Linked DNA regions of Homo sapiens: region 1 is linked to region 2. The links are contacts of gene promoters, found by promoter capture Hi-C in human tissues and cell types (Jung and others, 2019). All regions are on one chromosome and are shown on one strand. The core of a region is centred on a gene start or on the middle of the fragment in contact, and the rest is flanking DNA. Distances in the headings are between cores, read along the strand shown.

Evidence for each region. The method cuts DNA at HindIII sites, captures the fragments that hold promoters and counts their contacts. A contact is called where the count stands out against the background at its distance.
Region 1: a fragment that was not itself captured here is called in contact with the fragment with the promoter of FOXC2 in region 2 in 1 of the 25 tissues and cell types used here (lymphoblastoid cells).

What each region holds. Positions count from the first base shown.
Region 1 is chr16:87,227,900-87,233,415 of GRCh38, reverse strand. No RefSeq gene overlaps it. Among named protein-coding and RNA genes, the nearest start is that of C16orf95, 87 kb to the left of the region's middle. The HindIII fragment of the contact is 7,930 bases long and covers 1-5,516 here.
Region 2 is chr16:86,563,898-86,568,767 of GRCh38, reverse strand. It overlaps FOXC2 (forkhead box C2), which reads right to left and starts at 1,939. Exons shown (of 1, transcript NM_005251.3): 1 at 1-1,939. The coding sequence starts at 1,432. It overlaps FOXC2-AS1 (FOXC2 antisense RNA 1), which reads left to right and starts at 1,007. Exons shown (of 2, transcript NR_125795.1): 1 at 1,007-1,151; 2 at 3,450-3,623. RefSeq lists enhancers at 636-1,219, 1,220-1,804. The HindIII fragment of the contact is 12,739 bases long and covers 1-4,870 here.

The sequences.
Region 1 (5,516 bases), core at 2,418-4,917, 660 kb before region 2:
GATGTTCATATGTCTTCCTGAAGAACTATTAATGCGCTTGATTACAGGTGCTTCTCCAGGCTCTGGTGAGGTGTTAAGGTGTACCTTATTGACTTCTAAAGTCCCCACACTCTAAACTCTGAAACACGTCTGGCCCCAGAGTTTGCAGATAAAGGTTTGTGGAGTGGGTAGAGTCCTGCCTCCTTGGCATAGTGCTGGCAACCTTAGGTGGGGTAACAGAGGAAGCACAGAACAGAGTGGAGCAAAGTGCTCCTCCTCCCGTAAATGTTAGCTGTTAGCATAACATACTTTAGGTTGTTCAGTTTTTGCAGTATCTCCCTGAGGCTTAGTCACTTTACCCATGCAAAAGCTGAGGCTGGGAGAGGTGAAGTAACTTGTCTAAGGCAGCAAAGCTAGGAAGCAGGACCACCATGATGGCTGATTCCAGAACAAAGCACTTCTTAAATCACCATGCAAGAAGTTGCATGGTTGCTAGTCCTTCTTGTGCTCACTGGGATTCATTTGTAGGTGAAACCGTCAAAGGTCATGTAATGGAAGCCAGCGCGTGATGTGCTGGTCTTGTCCTAAGCAATTTATGCACATTACCTAATCCAATTCTTGCTACCCCTCTGTGACGTCGCTGATCTTGTTATTGCCATTTAACAGCAGGGAAACTGAGGCACAGAGAGGGTGAATAACTTGCCCTGGGTTATACAACCAAAAAGCGAGGAAGTCCCCATTAGAGCCCAGGTGGTCTCCCATTTTGCTTGAGGGTCTGCAAGCTTATCCATTCAACTGGGTTGCCTCAGTGTGAGGAGTGAAACACCTGTGTAAATAAGACCTTCCTTCCACACTTCCCCACTGTGCTTCAGCCTTCAGTTTCCAAAGCACTTTCATAGGGTAAGTGCAAGGAGAGGGTGTTGTTCTGTGTTATGGAGGCTCAGACAGGTCGAGTGATTAGCAAGAGGCACACTGACGATGTTGTGTATGTGCCACCCCACACTCTTGGGGGCTGTCTGATCAAGCTGAAGGGACTTAAGAGCAAAGACCTCAAGTTGATAAGAGTGGCCACCAAGGTGATTACAGCACCACATGCACCTGCTGTGTCAGCCTTTGCTCAGTGAAGAGACCCTGGTTTCATGCTGAACAGTGCATGGGAGTGATGTTTAACACATCTCCAGAATAAACCAGTGGCTTAGCATGGAGCATCAACACTGCTAGCATCACGACACAAGAGACCAGAGACTCTTGATGGCAAAGCACACCATGGCTCATGAAGCAACCTTGCCCAAAACCTCAGCCCTGAACCTAACTGGGCCTCCTGATCCAACCACCAATTTTCAGGAAACATGAAGGACAGAAGCACAAGTTAAATGACACTATGATGATGCAGCCAGCTGCACTTAGACTATGGGGAGACCCTGTTGGACAAATGTCCTGGTTTCTTTAACACTTCTCTCTCTCTCCAAATATATATATATATATATATATATATACACACACATATATACACACATATATATACATATATATACACACACATATATATACACACACATATATACACGTATATATATACACACATATATATATACACACACACAGATACATGCACACACACACACACAAACTCACAGAGAGAGAGAGAATGAATAATCCATGTAAGAAAAAGACTTAAAAGTCATATCAAGCTATTATAACTTGGGGCCTTTATTTGGATTCTGATTTGAACTGTTAAAAATAATTCATAATGTTACGAGGGACTGGAAATTAGAACACTGCCTAGAAACTTGATAGCATTAAGAAACTACTGTTATGTTTGAGTGTGACAGTGGCACCGTAATCTGGGTGGATAGCGTAGGGGTGAAACAGGATTGGACAGGAGTTGATCACTGGCAAGGCTGGAAGCTGGGGAGAGGCACACTGGGGTTTGTTACATTGCTGTTTGTATGGTTGCATGTATTTGAATTTTTCCATAAGAAAAAGTAAATAAAGGACTTGTTTACTTGCCTAAAGCAGTACCGCTCTTGGAAATGATTCAAACAATATAAAAGCAAAGTAAAACATTAAAGTGTCTAATTCTTCCAGTTAGTTTCCCTTTCAGGTAACCACTGTCTAAGAGTTTGATGTAAATCCTTCTAGACTTTCTAATGTCTGTATAAACAATCACATACCTTTATACTTTTTTTACACAAATAGGATTATACTACACACATGGATCTGCAATGTGGCTTTTTCTCTGAGCAATGTCATGGCCAATCCTTCATGTTCTAGCTGCATTTCTTTCTTTTTAACTTCACCGTATGCCTTTGTATGGATGTACCATGATTTATTTCACCATTCCCTTTGGGTAAACTTTTAGATTGATTTGAGCCTTTTGCTATTACAAGTCGTGCTTCAGTGAATGTCCTTGCACATATACCTTGGTGCATTTTTGTGAGGATTTGTGTCAAATGTGGTCTTAGAAGGAGAATTGTTCTGTTGGAACATGTGCTGCCAGAATGTCCTCCATAAAATTGTCCTCTCTGATGCTAATGAAGTGGGCTATGTCCCTGCCCAGCCTTAAAAATGTGGTTGAGTTTTCCTCCGATCATGTAAGAAGTACATGCATTTTGAAGGAATTTGGAAAGTACAGAAAAGGAAAGAAGAAAGTAAACACCAGCCAGATTTCCACATGTCATACGTATTGCTGTTCATTGAGATTGTTTCCAAGTATTTGCTATTGGAAGTCATGCTGCAAGAACAGCCTTGTGTATAAATCTTTATCCACATTGTGCTCGTTTCCTTAGGGGCTATTCCGCAGCAGGAATTATTGAGTAAAACCTTTGGGCTAATTTTAGGATACCTGTACTATGCCATCCAAGCAAATACTAGGATGTTTGTATAAGTGGTGACCACCACAAGCAATGCAGTAGAGGGCCTGTCTTTGTATATCTTGTCCAGTGTTCAGTATTACCACCAAACCATTATCTTTTTCTTTATTGCCCATTTGCAATAAAATGTGCTCTTTCACTTTTTCTCCTTCTGATTTGTGATGCTCAATAAAGGCCATAGGTTAATTACTAATATAGTTAGTGACACAGGCTCTGAACTTGGGCTACCTGAGCTCACAACCCAGCTACACCTTGTGGCTCACCTTTTTGGAGCCTCATCTTCTGCAGACTGGGGACATCGTTGTATCTATTATGAAATGAGGCAACCCACATGAAGCACAGGGCCGAGTGTCTGAACACAGGGCAGCCGCTGAATTGTGATGACGCTGATACTGTCTACAAGAAAAACATGAGGTATGGGATTTTGGAGCTTAGGAAATAGCTGAGAAAACAAAACTTAGAAAGATTAGATTAGAGACAGGAGGTTAGGGCTATATGAGCGGTATCTTAAGGTATCTTCATTGGATGGAGATGGGAGAGAGCTCCCTGAGGGCTTCCTGGAAGAAGGGGAAGCTGAGCAGAGTCTTGAAGGGCAAGGACAGGGAGGCAGGGGAATGGAGCCAGCAGAAACAGGATGGATGGGGGCGTGCACGCTCCCCTCCTTCTCTCCTGCCTGTCATTGTTCACGCTGGGCATCCATCACCCTGATGAGGGCCGAGGGGAGAGCTGGGCCAGTGACTAACCACTGCACAGCAGGAATAAAAACACTTGACCCTCTGGTGGGAGGAATTCAGCTGGAGTGGGAAATTTTATTTTGAATAATTAGCTAATATCACTGGGGAGATTTCATAACAAAGACAGAGAAATATGGAAAAGTACTTCGCAGCAGAAAAAAATGAGCATTTCCCCCACCCCAATTCCATTAGCACCGACAGGAATAAAGCTCCTGTATTATACAATGCCTTGGTTTCTCAGAGGAAGCCTGCAGAGTGTGGAGTGCATCTGTAAGGCGTGAAGAATGGGCTCGGCTGACTGCATGGCTGCTCTTCCACTTGGGCTGGGTGGAGGTCCGGGAATGGCAATGTCATCTTGAGAAGCCTCCCAGGAGCTGAATGTGCCCAGAATTGGCGCACGGTGGGGGCAGGAAGAGCTTTGCTGGGAGGAGGCCCAGGGGGTGAGTAGAGTGACGCTCCCCAAGGGCTGGAGGCATTGATAGCGGAGGCTACAGTGGGCGACAGCAGTGGGTTCCTCAGTTCTTCTGACAATTCGGGGCCAGCTCACATGGGTCCAAGAAGCCCTAATGGGCAGAAGAAGGTTGACAAGACCACACGCAGAAATCCTGAGACACAGCTGGTGCTTTCTGAAGATCTGATAAAGAGTGGAGGGTCTGACAGTGAGGGTCCGAGGGAACTTGTGGGTTTGTCTGTAAATTAGGATGTTTTAGGGGTCCACGGTACTGGTTAGGCTGGTCTCGAGTATTTAGTGTGGTTTTGGACAACATCATTATTTGGAGTCTGTAAAATGGGTATCATGATGTCCACCTCACAGATGTGATGGTAAAGAAGGGGACGTATGTCAGGTGCTGTCTGGCCCTCTGTGCTGGGCGACAAGCCATCCCAAAACACAAAGGCTTATAACGACAACCTTGAATTGTGTCTCGTGATTCTGTGAGCCAGTGGGGCTTGGCTGGTGGTTCTCCCACTGTCTGTCTTGGGGTCTCTCATGAGATTGCCGTGAGGTGGTGGCTGTGGCTGTGGCAGGAGTGGCCTCTCTCTCTAGGGATAATCCATGTGGCTGTTCCCTCCAATGGCATGACCTGGATTTCTTGCCTGACTCTCCGAGAGAGGAAGCGACACTGCCAGGTCCTTTTAATACCTGCCGTGGAAGACCCAAAGGTCGCTTCCTCTGCGTTCCATTGGCCAAGCAGGCCCAGCCCAGAGTCAAGGGCAGGGGTGCAATCTCAACTTTCGATGGGTGGCCAGGGGCTCCTGTGTACAGGGTGGGTGGAGTCATTTGGGGTGTTTGGCGATCATCTTGCCCAGGTGCTTTACCCTGGGGCAGACACTCAGATGCAAGGCATCTTACCATGACTGTGGCGAAAAGATTGGATTTTACCACACTTGTTTGAAAATAACCTCTGCCCTGAGGTCCTGGGCCTTCCTTTTGCAGCAGCCATTCCCCAGTGTCTCCCCTCCAGATGTCCTCATAATCCAGCAATTAAGGGGGTAACGCCTGGCATAGCCGGGGAGAGGGCTGCTGAGACCAGTTCCAGTAAGTTCTGATCTGCTACTGCGTGTGGTTATTGAGTATTTTGAATATCACCTGCAGGGCAGTCTCTCTGTATAGTAGCTGCTCAAGTAATGGGAACGTCTTTCATTCCTACTCATGTTGCTATTGTTATTTTAAGACAGGGGTTTAGACATTGCACTTTGGGAACAAAAGAGAATATGCTACCAGCCTCCAGAAATTCTGCACCATTCAGTTTTCCTTTTGGAAAAAGCCCTAGGTGTCAAATAGGAAAATCAACTCTTTTGACTTGATTTTCTACTTGGTCAAGGTAATGAAAGCCCCAAGCTGCAAACTGAGAGTAGGACGATATCAACACAAAAACAACCTCTGTCCTGGCGGTCCCTTGGCTCTCCCTCCCTGACGGCCTGTTCCAGG
Region 2 (4,870 bases), core at 690-3,189:
GGCAGCTGGCATTGCCACTCACCTGGGACTCCCCGAGGGTCGAGTTCTCAATCCCCAGCCGGTGGGAGTTGAACATCTCCCGCACGTTGGGGAAAGTTTGCTGCTGGGCCGCGAACGTGTGGCCGGGGAGGTGGTTCAGGTCCCCGCTGTGGTTGAGATACCAGGAGGCCGCCTGCGCCGCGGCGGCCCCGGGCTGCGGCGTCGGCTGGGGCTGGGGAGCCGGCGGGGGCGGCGGCGCCTGCGGGTGGTGGTGGCCGTGGTGCTGGTGGTGGTGGCCCGTGGCGGCGAGCGCGCCCTCCTGGCCGGCGGCGAGGTTGAGAGCGCTCAGGGGCGACGTGGGGCCGCTCGGGTGGTCCGAGAGGGCCTCGTCCAGGGCGGGCGGGACGCACATGTGCGCCGGCCGCTCGGCCCCGGTGTACAGGCTCATCGCTCGCATGCTGCACTGGTAGCCCCCGGCGGCCCCGGCCTCCAGGCCCTGAGCGCACGGCTGGCCGTAGGCGGCGGGCGGCGCGGCGGCGTAGGGCAGCGCCAGCGGCGGCACCACCAGGCCCGCGCGTCCGGCCCCCGGGCTCAGCTCTCCGCCCGGCGGCGACGTTCGCAGGGTCATGATGTTCTCCACGCTGAAGCCAGGCAGCCCGTTGGGCGCCGCGGCGTGGTGCTCCGGCAGCGAGCCGTCGGGGGAGCCGGCGGGCGTGGAGGCCGCGCTGCGCGGGCTGCCCTGCAGCGCGCTCTCGGGGCTCAGCGTCTCCACCTTGGTGATGACCGGCAGCGCCGGGGACGCCGCCTCGCTCTTGATCACCACCTTCTTCTCGGCCTCCTTGGGGGCGTCCGCTAGGTGGGGGGTGGCCGGGGCGCCCTTGGACGCCGCCGGGGGCGGCTCCTTGAGGTGGGCCCGCTCCTCCTTCTCCTTGGACACGTCCTTCTTTTTGAAGCGCCGCCGGCGCCGCAGGAAGCTGCCGTTCTCGAACATGTTGTAGGAGTCCGGGTCCAGGGTCCAGTAACTGCCCTTGCCGGGCTTCTTGTCGTCGCGGGGCACCTTGACGAAGCACTCGTTGAGCGAGAGGTTGTGGCGGATGCTGTTCTGCCAGCCCTGCTTGTTCTCCCGGTAGAAGGGGAAGCGGTCCATGATGAACTGGTAGATGCCGTTCAAGGTGATCTTCTTCTCGGGCGCGTTCTGGATGGCCATGGTGATGAGCGCGATGTAGCTGTAGGGCGGCTTCACCAGGTCCTTAGGCGCCGCGGGCTGGTGGTGGTGGTAGGGCGCGTAGGAGCGGCCCATCCCCGCGCTGTACTGCTCCGGGTGGCCGGAATAGACGCCCATGGGGCTGGCCATGCCGCCGTAGCTGCCCGCAGCCCGGTAGTAATTCTGCTCGCTCAGGTAGGGCACCACTCCCAGGGCGTTGGGGTCGGACACGGAGTAGCGCGCCTGCATGCTGCTTCCGAGACGGCTCGCCGGCGCCCTCGCGCACGGACTGCGGCCGGGGGAGCGAGGGGGGCCCTGAGAGCGAGAGAGCGCGAGAGAGCCAGAGGGGGAGAGGAGGGGAGCGGGAGGGGCGGCCCCGGGCTCCTGGCAGCCTCCGGGGCGAGGGTGCGCGGGCGGCGGCGCTCGGGCCGAGCAGGGGCGCGCGCTTTCAGCGGACCGGGCGGATCGGCATCCTGGAGGGCGCGCCCCGGGCAAGCGCAGCGCCGGCCCCGCTCCTCGCTGGCTCCAGGACCCGGCGGCGGCAGCGCGGGCAGGCGGGCGGCCGCGGACCCAGCGGAGACGCCGCGGCCTGGGGACCCAGGTGGACCCTCGGCCCGCGCGAGGAGGGGCGCAGGAGGCTCTCCAAGCCCCCAGCGAATCGGCAGCCCCGAGGGTCAGCGCGCCGGGGTCCGAGCGGCTGCCCCGCTGAGCCCAGAAAAAGAGGCCAAGTCCCTTTTAGGGATTGGGAAAAGTTTCAAAAGTCTTCTTGCTGAAAGCGAGTTTTTACTTTCCTCGGGCCACGCCCCCTCCCGGAACTTTGAGCCAATCACCCGGCAGCTGAGAGGAGTCGGCGCCAATCGGGGCGAGGAGCGCAGGAATCCGTCGGCTCTAAGACCCCGCCGCCCCGGCCTCCGCGGCGACTCCGTCTTCACTTGAAAACTTTTTAAAAAGTTATATCTTATTAAAATTTATTTTATGATCACATTTTGGTGAATGGGCCCACATGCCCAAAACAAAAAGATAGCCACTTTCCTCTGTTAAAAAAAATCAATTTGAAATATAAAATAGAATGGATTAATAGAGTAAAATATCTCTCCCAAAGACCTTGTAAGTAGCAATGATCCTGGGACATTTTTCTTATTAATGAGTGATGAAGCGAATAATTAGATTTCCTAATTATGGGGGCCCAGGTGTAATGGATTCAAAGCAAACGCGCTGGATTGGAATGGCAGGGCCTCTCCTGGATGTTATACTTATTTAATCAAATAATTAATCATCAACAGGGAGTTTCCAGGCTCGGGGTCGTCAAGGATAACCTATCGAGGTTTTAGAGGTAAACCCTACAAACTGAGTTTCCCTCGCTCCCCGCCGAGGAGCCAGGCAGCGGAGTGCATAGAGGGGAAGGTAGCAACGTGCTGACTGACAACTTAATCCTCCGAATTCGCGGGGAATTCGGTAGATCATCCGCGTCGCTGCGAGCAGTTTTGTGGGGTTTGGGGAAAAGGGTGAAGTGACTCTGCTATTTCCCCCTTTCGTCTCCCGCGTGGACACTCGCAGCCTACCAACTTCAGCTTCGAAACTCGTCTCCCTTTTCCCAGGTAGAAATTCCCTCTAACAAGCTGACCCCGCACTCCCAGAAGACCGGGACAATGCAGCGACCCACCCGGGCCAGGCAGAGCCGAGTTCCTGGGCCCTGCGAGGAGAAACCCGAGCCTGTTTTCCGCGGGGGCTTGGCTCGAAGGCGCGCGCAATGAGCGCCGCGCACCGCGGGCACCAAGCGTGGACGTTTCCCGTGGCCCAGGCCGGCGCCGGCCGCTAACACCGACCCTAGGGCGCTGTCCCTGCCTCCTGCTCCTGGCAACGTCCCCCTGGGAGCCTCCAAGTTGCTTTTCTATATTTCAGCCTTTTTTTTGTTTTGTTGGGTGGGTAGGGTGAGTTAGGGAGCGCGCTCCGTGGGAAGACTGGGTGAGCGGTTGATTGCAAACGGTTCAAGATCCCTTCGGGATGATATTATTCGGCAGGCAGACCTGGAGCGACTTGGATCTCCTTCAAGGATTTCTCCTTCCCTCTAGGAATCCCGGACAGTTTGTTTATTTGTGGACTGATTATTTATTCCTTCCACACCTCAATAATCAGATCCCCTTTTCCCACTTTCCCTGAAGGAGTGAGACACCCCTTTAACAAGGCTAAACACGGGCAGAATTTTGGAAGTTGCTGGTCTGGTTGGGCAGGGAAGAGGGCTTCAGGGAGAACATTTGTATTTCAGGTTTCCTTGCACCCTTCCTGGCTGTTCATCGGCTGCGTATTCGATTCTCAGCAAAAGGATGTTGAGACAACCCACCAGGCCTCTTCGCTTCGGCCTCTTCGCTTCGGGGAGGCGACTAGAAGGCAATGGGGCGTGCCACTTATTTCCAATAAAAGAACAGAAGACGAAAATGTAGATGCATTATCTTTGTCTCCTGATCAATTCAAAGCCAAAGGGAAGCTACAAATCAGGTTCCTTTACCTTGAATATTCCACTTCTGAAACATTGTTTTTATGAGTATTCTGGGCTCTTTTTCTAACCTGATCCTTTTTCTTCTTTCTTTGAAACAAAGTAAAATAAAGCTGCCCAGTTCTCAGCTCACAGGCAAATGATTTGAGCTTTCTGCCCCAACCCTAAACTCCCACCATGACTTTATTATTTTTAATAAGCTAGTATTTCCGCATCTAGCTTAAAAAAAAAAAAGGACTAGCAAAAAGTGCCCTTCTCCTGCAGCGCATGACAGGCACACTGAGTTCGTGTCACGATTTTACTGGAAATGCAAACTATTGATCAAGAAACACTCCTCAGCCTGTAGGCTTCCTGGAGGAATATTATTTACTCTGCTTTTACGAGGGGTGTGTGTGTGTGTGTGAGAGAGAGAGAGAGAGAGAAACAGCTTTATCACAGCAAAACCTAAAATAGCTAAGGACTATGAAAAAATAAATTCCAAAATGGCAGTTGCTGCCTACGTTTGTATTCACAAGGGTGTCCCGGTTTAAACCAATGTCATCTGGGGAAACAAACAAACAAACAAACAAACACCTAAATCGAGTCGCCCAATATATTATCCACCCTCCCCCGCCCCAAAGAAAGGAAAAGGGGAGGGGAAAGAAATTCGTCTCATCAAGACAGAAAAGGTGAGAGAGACACTTCCCTTTACCCCTGGAATTAGGTTTCTTGTTTGCTCAGTGGGACTCCGGGAAAGATGTTTGTTCAGGTTATTAAAACAACGCCTTCCATACACCTGGACTTTGCAAAAACCGTATTTCCCAGCTTTTCTTTAACCTGCCAGGGTATTTCGGATGGGGGGCTGCTACTTTCTGGCTGATTTTCCCCCTTCTTGACCTTGTAAGTCAGTGAGCCGAACGCGGAATCGGGTCCCAGAGGGCCTCGCGTGTTCCTGGAATAATAAGCGGCGATAAAGCCTAAAGGTATTTAATTCGCCTTCCGCCCCCACCGCGCTGCGCTCCTCCCGGCCCGTGGCCGCTGCACCTGGAGCGGCTGGGCGGACTCCGTGGGTGTTGGCGTCATCTTGAGGCCAACCAGGGAACTACTACGAGAAAAGGAAAAAGAAAAAGACCGCCCGGCCCGCCCTGCTTATCATGAAGGTGCTGACACCTTGTGGATACTCCTGGGCATTGCACGGCTGGAATGGAGCCTTC